Linked DNA regions of Homo sapiens: regions 1, 3, 4 and 5 are each linked to region 2. The links are contacts of gene promoters, found by promoter capture Hi-C in blood cells and fetal thymus (Javierre and others, 2016). All regions are on one chromosome and are shown on one strand. The core of a region is centred on a gene start or on the middle of the fragment in contact, and the rest is flanking DNA. Distances in the headings are between cores, read along the strand shown.

The links. Contacts are between HindIII fragments. The CHiCAGO score rates a contact against its expected background, and 5 or more counts as called.
Region 1: a contact is called between the fragment with the promoter of NFAT5 here and the fragment with the promoter of CYB5B in region 2, in 6 of 17 cell types (activated CD4 T cells, megakaryocytes, endothelial precursors and 3 more). The highest score is 7.2, in activated CD4 T cells.
Region 3: a contact is called between a fragment that was not itself captured here and the fragment with the promoter of CYB5B in region 2, in 10 of 17 cell types (activated CD4 T cells, monocytes, M2 macrophages and 7 more). The highest score is 9.3, in activated CD4 T cells.
Region 4: a fragment that was not itself captured here is called in contact with the fragment with the promoter of CYB5B in region 2 in 2 of 17 cell types (activated CD4 T cells and total B cells); the score reaches 6.2 in activated CD4 T cells.
Region 5: a contact is called between a fragment that was not itself captured here and the fragment with the promoter of CYB5B in region 2, in 3 of 17 cell types (activated CD4 T cells, M1 macrophages and endothelial precursors). The highest score is 7.2, in activated CD4 T cells.

Annotation. Positions count from the first base shown.
Region 1 is chr16:69,564,686-69,567,385 of GRCh38, forward strand. NFAT5 (nuclear factor of activated T cells 5) reads left to right here and starts at 1,281. Exons shown (of 15, transcript NM_138713.4): 1 at 1,281-1,689. The coding sequence starts at 1,617. MIR1538 (microRNA 1538) reads right to left here and starts at 1,183; the gene lies at 1,123-1,183. RefSeq lists an enhancer at 1-245 and silencers at 907-1,286, 1,006-1,182, 1,477-1,746, 1,767-2,076. The HindIII fragment of the contact is 15,576 bases long and covers 1-2,700 here.
Region 2 is chr16:69,423,277-69,425,976 of GRCh38, forward strand. It overlaps CYB5B (cytochrome b5 type B), which reads left to right and starts at 1,343. Exons shown (of 5, transcript NM_030579.3): 1 at 1,343-1,581. The coding sequence starts at 1,408. RefSeq lists enhancers at 626-1,173, 1,174-1,721. The HindIII fragment of the contact is 7,938 bases long and covers 1-2,424 here.
Region 3 is chr16:69,626,651-69,629,350 of GRCh38, forward strand. All of the region lies in intron 3 of NFAT5 (nuclear factor of activated T cells 5), which reads left to right. Among named protein-coding and RNA genes, the nearest start is that of NFAT5, 62 kb to the left of the region's middle. The HindIII fragment of the contact is 5,008 bases long and covers 1-2,700 here.
Region 4 is chr16:69,590,089-69,592,788 of GRCh38, forward strand. The region is part of intron 2 of NFAT5 (nuclear factor of activated T cells 5); the gene reads left to right. Among named protein-coding and RNA genes, the nearest start is that of NFAT5, 25 kb to the left of the region's middle. The HindIII fragment of the contact is 223 bases long and covers 1,251-1,473 here.
Region 5 is chr16:69,606,767-69,609,466 of GRCh38, forward strand. The region is part of intron 2 of NFAT5 (nuclear factor of activated T cells 5); the gene reads left to right. Among named protein-coding and RNA genes, the nearest start is that of NFAT5, 42 kb to the left of the region's middle. The HindIII fragment of the contact is 742 bases long and covers 946-1,687 here.

The DNA of each region.
Region 1 (2,700 bases), core at 31-2,530, 140 kb after region 2:
ACTGGGCCCTCCTTTGCTGAGAGCTTCTTACCCCAACCCTAGCACTCCAAGTCCCGAGAACTGCTCAATTTCATGGGAAAAAGTCTCTATAATTATATATATATGTATATATGTGTGTATATATGTATGTATATATATGTGTGCATATATATACACATACACATATTACAACAGACTGATTTTCATGAGTTGTAACTATCCTTGTAGATAAAAAACGAAACCATTCGAATAGCTTAAAAACCATGCCCACGTGGCTACTGGCATCAATATTCCACACAAGATTAAAATTACTTCCCAAGATGCACACCCTGCACTCCAGGTAATATTTCAATAACTTGATTAAAAATTTCTCAGAAGTCTATTAGAATCAGAAAACGCTCTGCGGTGTGGGTGAGGATTTTAAATTTTTGCAACGGAAACTTTTGGCTCCACGAACAGAAAAGCAAGAGCAAAAACTCAGTTAAATGCGTTCTTCCTCCATCTTTGCCTAGTCCAAAAGGAAAAAAAAAGAAACAGAAAAAAGAAAAACTGTTTGGAAGAGTAGCGTTGAGGTTTGCTTTTTACCTGTTTTTCCTCTAGAACAGCCAGGTGGATTCACATGATCCAATTTTTTAATTGTCTTCTATGTCCCACTCCGAATAACCCGGATGCCCCAGCACAATCAGAGAGATCGTTTTTTTTAAAAAAAATTTCAGCCTCCAAAGGTAGGAGGGGAGTGTTAGGGGAGAAAGTACTTTAATTAAAAATCAATAACTCGAGGTTTTTGGGATACGGTTTGCCATTTCCTAATTAAGAAATGGGTTTGACAGTCCCTTTGTACACACTGCTATGCAAACCCCAAAGGGTTGGCGGCTGTCCGGGCGATGACACTCCGGTCCCCTGCGAGACCCCGGGCCAGCCAGGCCCGTCCGCCGCCGGCCTCTGGGGTCCGTCCCCGGCTCGCGCAGACCTCTCGCTTCTCTCGGCTCTGTCTCCTGCGCTCAGCTCTGCTCGGGGCCGGCCGCCTCAGGCTCGCCGCCACCAGGTCGTTGCAAATACCTTTTCCCTCCCCGGGGCCCCAGCGCGCGGCCACCTCCCAGCCTCCCCCCCTCCCACCCTGGCAGCGGGGCCCTTTCCCGGCTCAGGAACAGCAGCAGCCCGGGCCGCGCCGGCAGGAAGCGAGGCCCATGTTGCTGCTGTTCCCTGGCGCGCCTCCCCGCCCTCCGGGGGCCGCCACGGCTCTTCCGCGCTCCCGGGCACCCCCCTCCGCGCCTGCGCTGTGCCCCACGGGGGCGGGGCTCAGATTCCTGTCAGCGGCGGCGGCGGTGGCGGCGACCGTCAGTTTTCGCTGAGGAGAAACACGAAACGGACCCTTTGGCTCTCCCCCTTCCCCTTCCCCGTCCTGAACCCCTCTCCTGGTCACCGAGAATCAGTCCCCGTGGAGTTCCCCCTCCACCTCGCCATCGTTTCCTCGGTCCTCGGCCCAGTGGAAGTCACTACCCTCGAGGAGGAGGCAGCGGCAGCCGCCCTCGCGTCGCCGCCCCCGGTTCGGTGCCCGCGGTCCCGGAGAGGAGGTGCCGCCGCCACCGCCGCTCCCCCCCTCCCGCTGCCCTCGGGCCGGGCTGGGTCGAGCTGCGATGCCCTCGGACTTCATCTCATTGCTCAGCGCGGACCTAGACCTGGAATCGCCCAAGTCCCTCTACTCGCGAGGTGAGTCAGGCTGTGGGGGGTGGGGCGTGGGGGCGGGGAGACAGGGAGACAGGGAGACAGGGCCAGGGGAGGCGAGGGGTCCCCGTCCCGCCGGGGGCGGCTGAGCCGCGACCCCCATGGCTTCTTTGGCCGGAGCGGGCAGAGGCCGAAGGGATCGGGGTGACGGTGGAGGGGGCGGGCGGAGCAGTGGCGGCCCCTCCCCCGCGGAGCCGCCGGCCGCTCGGGGCCCAGATTCCGTCGGCCCCCGGGGCTCTGCGGCACCGGTCGCTTCTAGCCGCTCTCAGCCCGTCCGGCCCCGCCAGGCTCCGCGAGCCGCCGGCCCCGGCCTCCCGGGCTCGGGGATGGCCCCAGACTGGGCCCCGCGCTGGGGCCACCGCGATCGGGGCGCCGCGTCTTCTCTTACCGGGACCCTCCTCCCCAGCAAAGTTGCCCCCAAGCGGGCGGCGTGGCCTGGAGCCGGTTCTGAGTGCAGGGTCACCATTTTCCTCCCTTTCCAGCTTGTTTTTGCGCCGTCGTTCCACCCCCTCTCCCTCCGGCCTAGTCCACTCCCTCCCCATGTTGGGACAGCCCCCCTCGACCAGGCGTTCTTCCTTTCCTCGTCATCTTCTTGCTGGAAAGGGCCCGATGGAAAGGGCCCGAATTTTCTTTTCTTTTTTTTTCTCTTCCCACCTCCGTGGCATTCTAATTACTTCTCCCTTCTCCTTTACAAAGATGGGGGTGCCCTCTCTGGATTGGTTTTATTCCTCTCCTCTCCCAGGAGGACCAGCCCAGGCACAGACGCTGTCCTTTGAGAATTTTCTCTGCTTTTCCGTTCAAGGGCTGGTTGCAGGGAGGGAGCTCAGGCAGAGACTTTTCATTTAAGAACTCTTTTGGCTAAGGCCTGCAGGGGATTCCCAGCATCTGAAATATTAGCACTGGAGCTGATCCCTACTCAGGTGAAATTCCTTTACTGGACACCACAAGAATGTGTCAGAACAGGTTCCCTGTGCAAGGGGCTTCAAAACCAAAATA
Region 2 (2,700 bases), core at 93-2,592:
CGGATGTGGTTTTAAACCAGCAGGTTTCAGAGTCGGGGCGGGTGCAACAGGCTTATAAAGGGAATGGTGGAAAATATTATACGTTAGTGAAAGAGGTTGCGAATGGATTGTGGAGAGCCCTGAATGGTAGACTGCGAGAGTGACAGGATGAAAACGACGACATCATAGGAAGAGCAATCTGTCAGTTGTAATGGCAGTTAAAAAGTGGCGCACAACACTGTACCTTAACCAAACTTGGAATTCCAAAGTGCTGGGACCTCTAGCGGAGAGCAGTTGAGTTCAATTCTATTTTAGATCACGTAGAGACTAAAATAGTGCCGATTGATCCTGATCATCACAGAATTCGTTTGAAAATCGGATTCTGAATGATGGTAGAAACATAGGATACTCCACATTCTACCCCCAATTGCTGTCCGGGACAGCAATTGCCTTTCTAATCGACTGCCATGTTTAGCGATTACTATGCGCCAAGCGCTTTACAGGCACTCTCATTAAAATAGGCAAACCGGGCCAGGCGCGGTGGCTCACGCCTGTAATCCCAGCACTTTGGGAGGCCTACGCAGGCGGATCACCTGAGGTCAGGAGTTCGAGACCAGCCTGGCCAACATGGTGAAACCTACTCTCTACTAAAAATACAAAAATTAGCCGGGCGTGGTGGCGCATGCCTGTAGTTCCAGCTAGTCGAGAGGCTGAGGTAGGAGAATCGCTTGAACCTGGGAGGCGGAGTTTGCAGTAAGCCGAGATCGTGCCACTGCACTCTGGCCTAGGAGACAGAGCGAGAACTTGTCTCAAAAAAAAAAAAAAAAAAAAAAAAGGCAAACCCCTCTGTAAGAGAGTGCTTTATCAAGCCCATTTTACTGATGGGGAAATTGAGGAGAGACGGGATTGGCCAGATCACGACCTGGAGGCAGCAAAGATGTAAAATCAGGGTTGGGATACAGGCTGCGCCGGTAGTGTAGGGGATAGGAACTTTCTGAGACTCAGGAGAAAGCCACAGCGATGGGAAGGGAAGCAGAACACTGGAGACCCTAAAGGCCCACAGGCTGAGAGAAGTGGTACCTCTCCTGAAGTGACACCTGTCAGCACGCCTCTTTTGGGCGCCAGTCCAAAAATCGCGGTATCTGATTGGCGAGGTTGGAGGGGGCTGAACGACCCTAATTGGTTAGTTGGACCTCGAACCAGACTTTCATCTGGAGGATCGGGCGAGGAGTGGGCGGGATTTCGAACTGAGCCACTCCCTTCATTGGTGAAAAGAAAACGAACCAGGAACTATTCGGAAGTGTGATTGGCTGTTGCTAGGAACCGTCTCAAGGCCTTATGGGCCCTGGTTACGGAAGCCGAGGAAGGCTGAGCGCGGGCTCTCAAGGAAAGTAGTCGCGGAATCTCAGTTAGCGGTGGAGAGGCAGTATGTCCGGTTCAATGGCGACTGCGGAAGCTAGCGGCAGCGATGGGAAAGGGCAGGAAGTCGAGACCTCAGTCACCTATTACCGGTTGGAGGAGGTGGCAAAGCGCAACTCCTTGAAGGAACTGTGGCTTGTGATCCATGGGCGAGTCTACGATGTCACCCGCTTCCTCAACGAGGTGGGGCCTGGGAGGTGGGAGGCCTCTGAAGCTGCTGGGGCGAGGGGTGAAAAGGCTGTGTGGAGTGTATGTGGGAAGGAAGGGAGGCTTGGCTGGGGGCGATAAGGCGTAAGAAAGGGATCACGACCCTCAGAGGGAAACTGGGGTGGGATTGGGGGAGGGCTTTAGTTTGCATGCATTTCCAGTCAGCTCCGAGTTCTGGTGCCTTATGTAATATCATGTATTACTTATGTGTCGAGCATTTGCTGTGTGCTCAGCTAAACTCTAAGCCATCATTATCTTTATTTTACAGAAAGGGAAACTGAGGCTCACAGGTTGAGGACTCTCAGGGCCATAGAGTTAGCAGCTTAGATCCGTTGAACCTAGGTCTGAAGTGCACCCACATCTGTGCTTTTCCAGTGTGCCTTCTGAAGTAATACCGGTTTTGGTTTTCGTCTTCTAGAGTAGAAGCTGAGATTTCTCTCCACACGCTTCCCCATCTTGATTATGCCTCCACTGTTTTTTTTTCCCCCTAATCTGAGTTGACCTTGAGGCCAGAAACTCATAAATCAACCCTTTTTTTTTGTTTTTGACTCATGTTTTGTCATTTTTCTTAAATATTCAAGACTGTTTTATTTAATCTTCAAGTCTGTTGCATTACATCTCATTTTAAAAATTATTTTTGAGACCATGGTGCAACTAATTTTTTTTTTAAGGAAACAGGATAGACTTCTAAATATTTAAAACTTTATTGAGGTGTAATGTACATACGTAAATTGTGCCTATCTAAAATGTACATTTTGATGAGTTTTGAAAAATGTATTCATCCATGTTAAGACATAAACCATTTCCATCATTCTAAAAAGCTTCCTTTCCCTTTGCAGTCATTCTCTCCCAACCCCAGGCAACTAGTGATATGCAGCCGCTAAAGATTGGTTTGAAGCTTTGATTTTCGGTGTGTGTATGTTTGAAGCTTTGATTTTCGGTTTGTGTGTGATCATTTTATTTTGAGCAATAGATTAATGACTTGTGAAAGTTCACTTCTATTTCTCTGAAGCAAATATACTAGTGAAATATTTTTTCGATTAATTTGGGGCCTAAAAGAGAAATCTCTGCATCCTGACTTTTAATTCTAAAAAC
Region 3 (2,700 bases), core at 150-2,649, 200 kb after region 2:
TAAAATATGTACTTTTAACCTTAAACTTTTTCAATATTATTTTCTTAATGTAATTCTTATTTCTTAAAATTTTACATTGTCTCATCTATAAATGCCATTTCCTAAAATGGACCTTGTCTTCAAATATGGGAACCAGCTTAAAGTTGTTTGGTTGACTGTGCTTAAAAAGGTTAAATACCAAGCTGTGAATAGAAAATTATATTTGAGTTTCTGTTTAATAATTAATTTTAAAGACTTGCACCAAGGGAAAATATTTTATATGATCTGAAAAATGACTGAAGCACTCAAGTGTCTTTTATATTCATAGCATGTTACTGAAACCTTTTTATTATATTTAAAAATATATGTGACTTCGTAGTTTTCAATTTATTGAAAGTAATGGAGGACGTCAATATAATATTTATATAAAGACATTTTCTTATATTGATGAAAAGGTATAGAAAGTAATGTTTGAAATTTATTAGACTTATTTTTACTCAGCTCTCAAATCATACACTTAATGATATACAATTGGCTCAAATTTTTATTTTACATAAAAATAAAAGATAGACAAGCTAATAGAAAAAAGTGTTATCAGTGACAAATTAGTATCAGTCCTTCCTGTAATGTTAGTTTACCCACCTAATATTGGATTTATAGACTGCTAAGTGTGTTTGTTTTAAAAAAAGGAAACATATATATATATATATATATATATATATATATATATATATATATATATATATATATATATTTTGAAGTTTTATCTGTCCTAATTAGAGGTTTCTTGCCTAATATGACACCTCTCATCTTTAAAAATGATATTTAAAGTTTATCAGAGCATTGTTTTCAGTAAATTATTTTAGTTTCAAAATGAGAACAGTAAAGTGTAAGGTTGTGGTTTAAATGAGGATATTGGTACTATAGTATAACTTCAGATATATTTCTCATATGCATTAACCTATGTACCATTAACCTTATGTACCAATCTTTCTCAGGCTGCATAGTGCATTGCTGAAGCCTTCCTGGTTGAAGGCAGGAAAACTTTAAATATGGCAAAGAAACTGATCAGCCCTGTTCACTGTTCATGTGTTGCCAGACACTTTCTAACAGTTTCTGTGGATTTAATTGTGAATTAGTGAACTTTTTAGTAATCAAATTGATAAGATGACCTGGTTTGCTTTATATCCACTGGGTTCTAAAATGGCTCTGATGATATTTTTCTGGAATTTTAAGTTTTAAATCTGGTTTTAAAATTGCATCCAATAATAAAATATGACAAAGATAAAATATTTTTTATGAGATACTTCACTTTAAATCCACAAGTAGAAATTGACTAACTGATTTCTTTTGTATCTTTTGAGATTGTTTTTTAAAGATACGTTGAATCTATATAGAACTAAAAGTCTGTTTCTTCTGTGCTTTTTAACATCTGTTGACGGTAGATCCAGTTCCTTTTAAAAGCTGAAAAAATTGTTAGGTTTAGAAAAAGAACAGTTCTTCCTTTTAGATAATACCAAATTGAATTTTAGAAATTCTTATATATATAAAAATATATTAAAAGTTCTTGAATTTGGGTCCCTAATGAAATATTAACCTTCTCCCCACCACAGTATATTTAAGAAAAATCTCTCAAGATAAATTACATTGAAAGCTGTGAGTTGAAAAATCATGAAAATAAGAAATCTAATTAAAAGAAGTATTTTGAAGTAATGCATTCTTATTATCTTGAAATTATTGACATTGTAAAGATGGCAAAGAGAGTAAGAAGGTAAACTTTCTAGTTTTGTTATAGTCACACACAGAAAGTTTATATGATCATTAACAAGTCATTTAAAATCTTTTTCAAAATATAAATTTAGCAACCAATGTAGATTATTCTAGGATTCTAATAGCTTAGAAAGAGCACTTCATACCTTACCATTATAAACAAGAGAGTTTAAATCACAGAATAATTATTTTAAGGAAATCAGTATATATCATTAGAATTATATTTTTATTTGACATACTAATATTCTTGGTGATATAACTGTCAGAGTTACTTGGAGTATATTACCAAGTTACTCAATGTTTTTCTAGCCAGAAGGCTAGATAGATGTCTAGGGAAAGGCATATTAATTTAGACTTGTATGGGTTTTTAAAAAATCTTTAGCATTTTTGAAAAAATATGGGCCAGGCATGGTGGCTCACACCAGCACTTTGAGAGGCCCAGGCCGGCAGATCACCTGAGGTCAGGAGTTCAAGACCAGCCTGATCAACATGGTGAAACTGCGTCTCTACTAAAAATATAAAAAATCAGCCGGGCGTGGTGGCGGGCGCCTGTAATCCCAGCTACTCTGGAGGCTGAGGCAGGAGAATTGCTTGAACCCGAGAGGCGGAGGCTGCAGTGAACCAAGATCGTGCCATTGCACTCCAGCCTGGTCAACAAGAGTGAAACTCCGTCTCAAAAAGAAAAAAGAAAAAATATGAAATGTGTAAAAATATTGACTCTTGATATAGTTAATTCTTCAGAGTTTTGAAGGAGCCGGATTGGCTGCTCTCAGGTATGAGGGCCTGGTGGGAACAGACTTCTAGTTCTGCCATAAAGGTTTGTGTTTGACAAGTTTTAAATTAATTTAAATTTTAAAATTTAAAGACTGGGCATATGAGTGTTCATGGACATTTTTTTGTTGTTTAATTTTTTAAAATGTGTTTCTCAGATTCACCAATTTAGATTTTTTT
Region 4 (2,700 bases), core at 112-2,611, 170 kb after region 2:
GCATGACCCCAGGAGTTCAAGGTTACAGTGAACTATGATCGCACGACTGCACTCCAGCTTGGGCGACAGAATGAGACCCTGTCTCAAATAATAAAAAAATAAATAAAGCTCTGCATTTTGGCAGTTGTGGGTCGTCTGAGTACAGACGTTGAGTCCTGAGTATCAGGTGACTAAAAACTCTAGTATTGTAAATAGATTTGTAAATTGACAAATCTTGTTTTAGACAATTTTGCTATGGTATGCAACAAAGTTATTTCCAAATACTTTTAGGTTTGGATATTTAAAGTGCTATTTAAAAAACTGTATTAGTCAAAGTTCAGGATTTTTTGCGTAAATGTGATTTAAAGTATAAGGCAGTTCTAGTTCTTTCTTTGTATTTGTATTGTTAAAATAAGACTCAGTTGAATTTCAGTTTGAAAATACTGGAAAATTGTTATTCATAGCTACTTTGTCTCAGGCTAGATGATTATAAGGAGAAAATTAATTCTAAAGTGGTTTAAACCAAATCATGTTTTAAATTTAGTGTTATATAAATTTCAGGTTGTGTTCTATATCTTTTTTTGGCTTTCCCCTCCCTCAGCCTAACAGTTTAGTTGTTCAGGATAGGGAGATTTGTCCCATGTAATTATTTTTCAGTTTTGCTGAACATATTTTTAAAATGGCTACCTTTCTTGGGTACAGTGTCATGGGATTCCCCGCCCCATCTGGGGTAGAGTGTTGTGGGATTAGAGTGAGATAAGAGACAAAGGAGAATCTTTCAGGTCTTCTAACTCAAATCACTAGAAATTTAGGCACGATCTGGACCTTAATGTGTGAGAGGCTGTATCATTTTATTTCCCAAATTGTATTTTCTTTTTTCTTGAGACTGAGTCTCACTCTGTCGCCCAGGTTGGAGTGCAGTGGCGTAATCTCGGCTCACTGCAACCTTCGTCTCCTGGGTTCAAGCAATTCTCCTGCCTCAGCCTCCCTAGTAGCTGAGATTACAGGTACATGCCACCATGCCTGGCTAATTTTTCTATTTTTAGTAGAGATGGGGTTTTGCCATGTTGACCAGGCTGGTCTCAAACGCCTGACCTCAGGTGATATGCCTGCTTTGGCCTCCCAAAGTGCTGGGATTACAGGCATGAGCCACTGTGCCTGGCCACAAATTGTATTTTCTCTAACTTCTAGTTGGTATGAAAAAAGTATTAAAGAGTCCCCTCCCCACCCCGCCCCAGTTTTCTTACTCCGAGGATGAAGATGAAGTGGAAAGCTTTAGATAGTTGGTTTTTCAGCCTGGCCACCATGGAAAAATTATTTACTGTTTTATGAAACATGCAATTCAGTTAATTTGGAGGAAGCTGTTTAGTAAGGGGAAAAGGACAGGATTTCTAGTTAGGAAACATAATCAAGTATCTGTTTTAAACTTTGCTAGTTTTATTTCTTTTCCTCTTTTTATCCTCATTTCCTTTTTATCTAGCAAGATTATCGTGAAGCTTCTATGAATAATTTTCTACATTATGCTAGTGCCTTTAAACAGTGTTTGAATATGAATCTCTAACTTGCTCTGAATATGTTGAGAAAAAAAGTTGATTTTTCAGGATAAGTAATTCTTTTTGGGTGTTCAAGATATTTTTAACAAAAAATTTTTCAGAAATTGAAAGTTGGCTTGGCACAGTAGCTCACACCTGTAATTTCAGCACTTCATGGGGCCAAGGCAGATGACTTAAGGCCAGGAGTTCAAGACCAGCATGGGCAACATAGCAAGACCCCTTCCTACACAGCCCAGGAGTTTGAGGCTGCAGTGACCTGTGATTGTGCCACTGCATTTCAGCCTGGGTGACAGAATGAGACCCTGTCTTGATTTAAAAAAAAATTACAAAAAGTCTTTCCAAAGCTATAAAAACTTTAAGCTTTATTCTTTCTCTTTTTCCATGATACTTATTGGCTCTTTTAGGTTTAGTGGTAACTCCTACCAATAATTCTTAAAAGGAAAATGATAATTACTTTTTCTTTTTTTTTTTTTTTTTGAGAAGGAATCTCACTCTGTCACCCAGGCTGGAGTGCAGTGGTGTGATCTCGGCTCACTGCAACCTCTGCCTCCTGAGTTCAAGCAATTTTCCTGCCTCAACCTCCCAAGTAGCTGAGATTACGGGCACCCACCACCACGCCTGGATAATTTTTGTATTTTTAGTAGAGACGGGGTTTCACCATGTTGGCCAGGCTGGTCTCGAACTCATGACCTCAAGTGATCCACCCACCTTGGCCTCCCAGAGTGCTGGGATTACAGGCGTGAGCACCATGCTCAATGGTAACTACTTTTTAGGGATGATACATGGTACTTAGTTGTCACTGATTTTTTTTTGTTGTTGTTCAAAAATTATTATAGTATCTAAAATCTTGTGAACATGGGAACAGATTGTGAGGAGAAAAATAAATAAAAGCTTGTGATTATTTCAAATTCTTATGATCTCAAGTCTTGACTAAAATGTGTGCTTTACAGGGATTAAGATTAAAGTGAAGCTGTTTTTTTCCCTCATAATGTTTCTAACTTAAATTTTTAAGGGGCATTAATACTTATGAAATTGATAGTTTTCTCATCTTTTGATTACTCCCCTCAATTCATGCTTCTGAAAAATGCATTCTAGCTAAAAATATAAGAATGCTTATTAATCATAAAATATATTGGTACTTGTTTAGTGTAGAACTAAGGGATTTAGA
Region 5 (2,700 bases), core at 67-2,566, 180 kb after region 2:
TTGCTTGAACTGGGGAGGCAGAGGTTGCAGTGAGCTGAGATGGCGCCATTGCACTCCAGCTTGGGTGATAGAGGGAGACTGTCTCAGAACAACAACAACAACAAAAGGAAAGCTGTGTATTGTGAAGTGAAATCAGAGTCACCTTGAAATGGGCATGAGGTATTCATCAGATTGCCTTTGGAATAAAAGAAATAATGTCCGTGGAATATCTCAGTAACACCTCCTCATTGCTAACCCTTTTGAGGGCAGAAATTATAGTTTTTATTTATGTTAGTAGCTCCAATTAATATATTAATAATAGTTCTAGGTGTGTTCTACACATTATTGCTAGTGCTTACAACTCTACAAGGTAGATAGGTATTACCACTGTATTATAAATGAGACAGCCAAGGCTTGCTGTGATAAGTAACTTGTCCAAGGTCACACAAAAAATAAGTGATACATTTATGATGAAACCTCAGTTCTGACTACCTTTGTTCTTTCATTATGACATGCTGCCTACCTCTTATTTATTATAAACAATATTGGTATACTGACACAAGGATCAGATGCTTTGTATAATGGTTGTAGACTTTTCCAAGGAATCTTGTGACTTTCTTCTTTTTACTTTATCCCCCTTAATGCAAAAAAAGAGAGATTACAATAAATACTTGAAATGCGTCCTAATTATCTGTTACGTATAGTCATGATTGTGAGTTTCTGATCAAGCCAAATGAAAATTTATGTGCTTTTAACAATGATATTGACAACCTCTAATACTAGAACCTTTATCCCCTGAGTCTTAACCCCTTAATTCTTCCATATTTTGTAATTGGCCCTTTAAAGATAAATAGGTGTAGAAGGATTTCTTACATACCTCTTAAGCATCTGCTTCTAGAGCATAGCCACTGGCAAATGGAAACAACTGAATTCTCTTCTAGAGCACATTTGAATCCATCTCACTAAAGCTTCTCAACTTGTGACTTCTTCTGAAAAATTTATTTTGGTCTTCTCATTTTCTATTTTCTTTTTCTCTCATGTCAGTGGAAGAGATTCTCAATTTCTTTTCTAAGGTACTTTCAATTTCCTGACTTGATTCTGTGACATACTTTTTCTATTTTCCACTCTCTCTTTTCATTACTCCCTTTCATGTGTTTGTTTTCCTCACACCAGTAGTAGTCAAACTGCTGTTAACTATGATTTCTGAAAAGGTACTTCTGCATTTGATATAATTTCAAAAGGGCCATGGTGCTTAAAAAGAAATTAGAAAACTAAATGCTTATGGTAGTATAATCATGTAACAGTGTACTAGAAAAACTACTTTATTGGCCGGTCACGGTGGCTCACGCCTGTAATCCCAGCACTTTGGGAGGCCAAAGTGGGCAGATCACTTCAGGTCAGGAGTTCGAGACCAGGCTGGCCAAGATGGCAAAACCCCGGTCTCTACCAAAAATATAAAAAATTAGCCGGGTGTTGTGGCGTGCCTGTAATCTCAACTCCTCGAGAGAGGCTGAGGCAGGAGAATCCCTTGAGTAGTTCCCCACATGCATACATACAATGATCACTACTCAACTAGATACTCTAAGGAGATCCTCTATAGATCTCCAGCGTTCTCTCTGAGTGTGTCTCTCCTTTCCAGTACTCTGCATTGAGAACCCCGGCCATCTGGGCTTCCCCAGACTCCTAGCTCTACCACTTCAACTTAAGAAGCTTAAGAAGACTGCTGGGTGGCCAGGCGCGGTGGCTCACGCCTGTAATCCCAGCACTTTGGGAGGCCGAGGCGGGCGGATCACGAGGTCAGGAGATCGAGTCCATCCTGGCTAACACGGTGAAATCCTGTCTCTACTAAAAATAAGTATATTGAAAATTATCTACCACCATGTGAAATAGTAGTTGTCATTTTAGTCAGGCTGTGGTACAGTGCAATGGCACAATTTCTGCTCACTGCAAGCTCTGCCTCCTGGGTTCACGCCATTCTCCTGCCTCAGCCTCCCAAGTAGCTGGGACTACAGGTGCCTGCCACCACGCCCGGCTAATTTTTTGTTATGTAAATATAATTGTTTTTTCCTCTAGGTTGAAGAATTTAGGTAATCTGGCCAGGTGTGGTGGCTCACGCCTGTAATTCCAGCACTTTAGGAGGCCAAGGCGGGCGGATCACGAGGTCAGGAGATCGAGACCATCCTGGCTAACACGGTGAAAACCCGTCTGTACTAAAAATACAAAAAATTAGCCAGGCGTGGTGGCAGGCATCTGTAGTCGCAGCTACTCGGGAGGCTGAGGCAGGAGAATAGTGTGAACCCAGGAGGCAGAGCTTGCAGTGAGCTAAGATCATGCCACTGCACTCCAGCCTGGGCAACAGAGTGAGACTCCGCCTCAAAAAAAAAAAAAGTATTTAGGTAATCTGCAGAAGAAGGTGGTTCAGGTCTTTGGTTGCTGTTCTTTCCTAGACTCTTCAGAAAAAAATGAATTAACTAGCAATGCTTAAAGAGGTAGTAAATACAAGCCAATCCATTTTCATTCCAGCTGCATTTCATGCTTCAGAGTAATGGCTGTTAGCCAGAATCACTTGTGAAGCTTTATACACATATACATTCTGTGATCTTATTCCCTGTAAACCCCTATTCAGTAGTCGGTCTGTGATGAAATCCCAGGCATCTTCATTCAGGTTAAAAAAAATATACATATGTCTACATGAAATTCTGGTATTCCCTGTTGAAAACC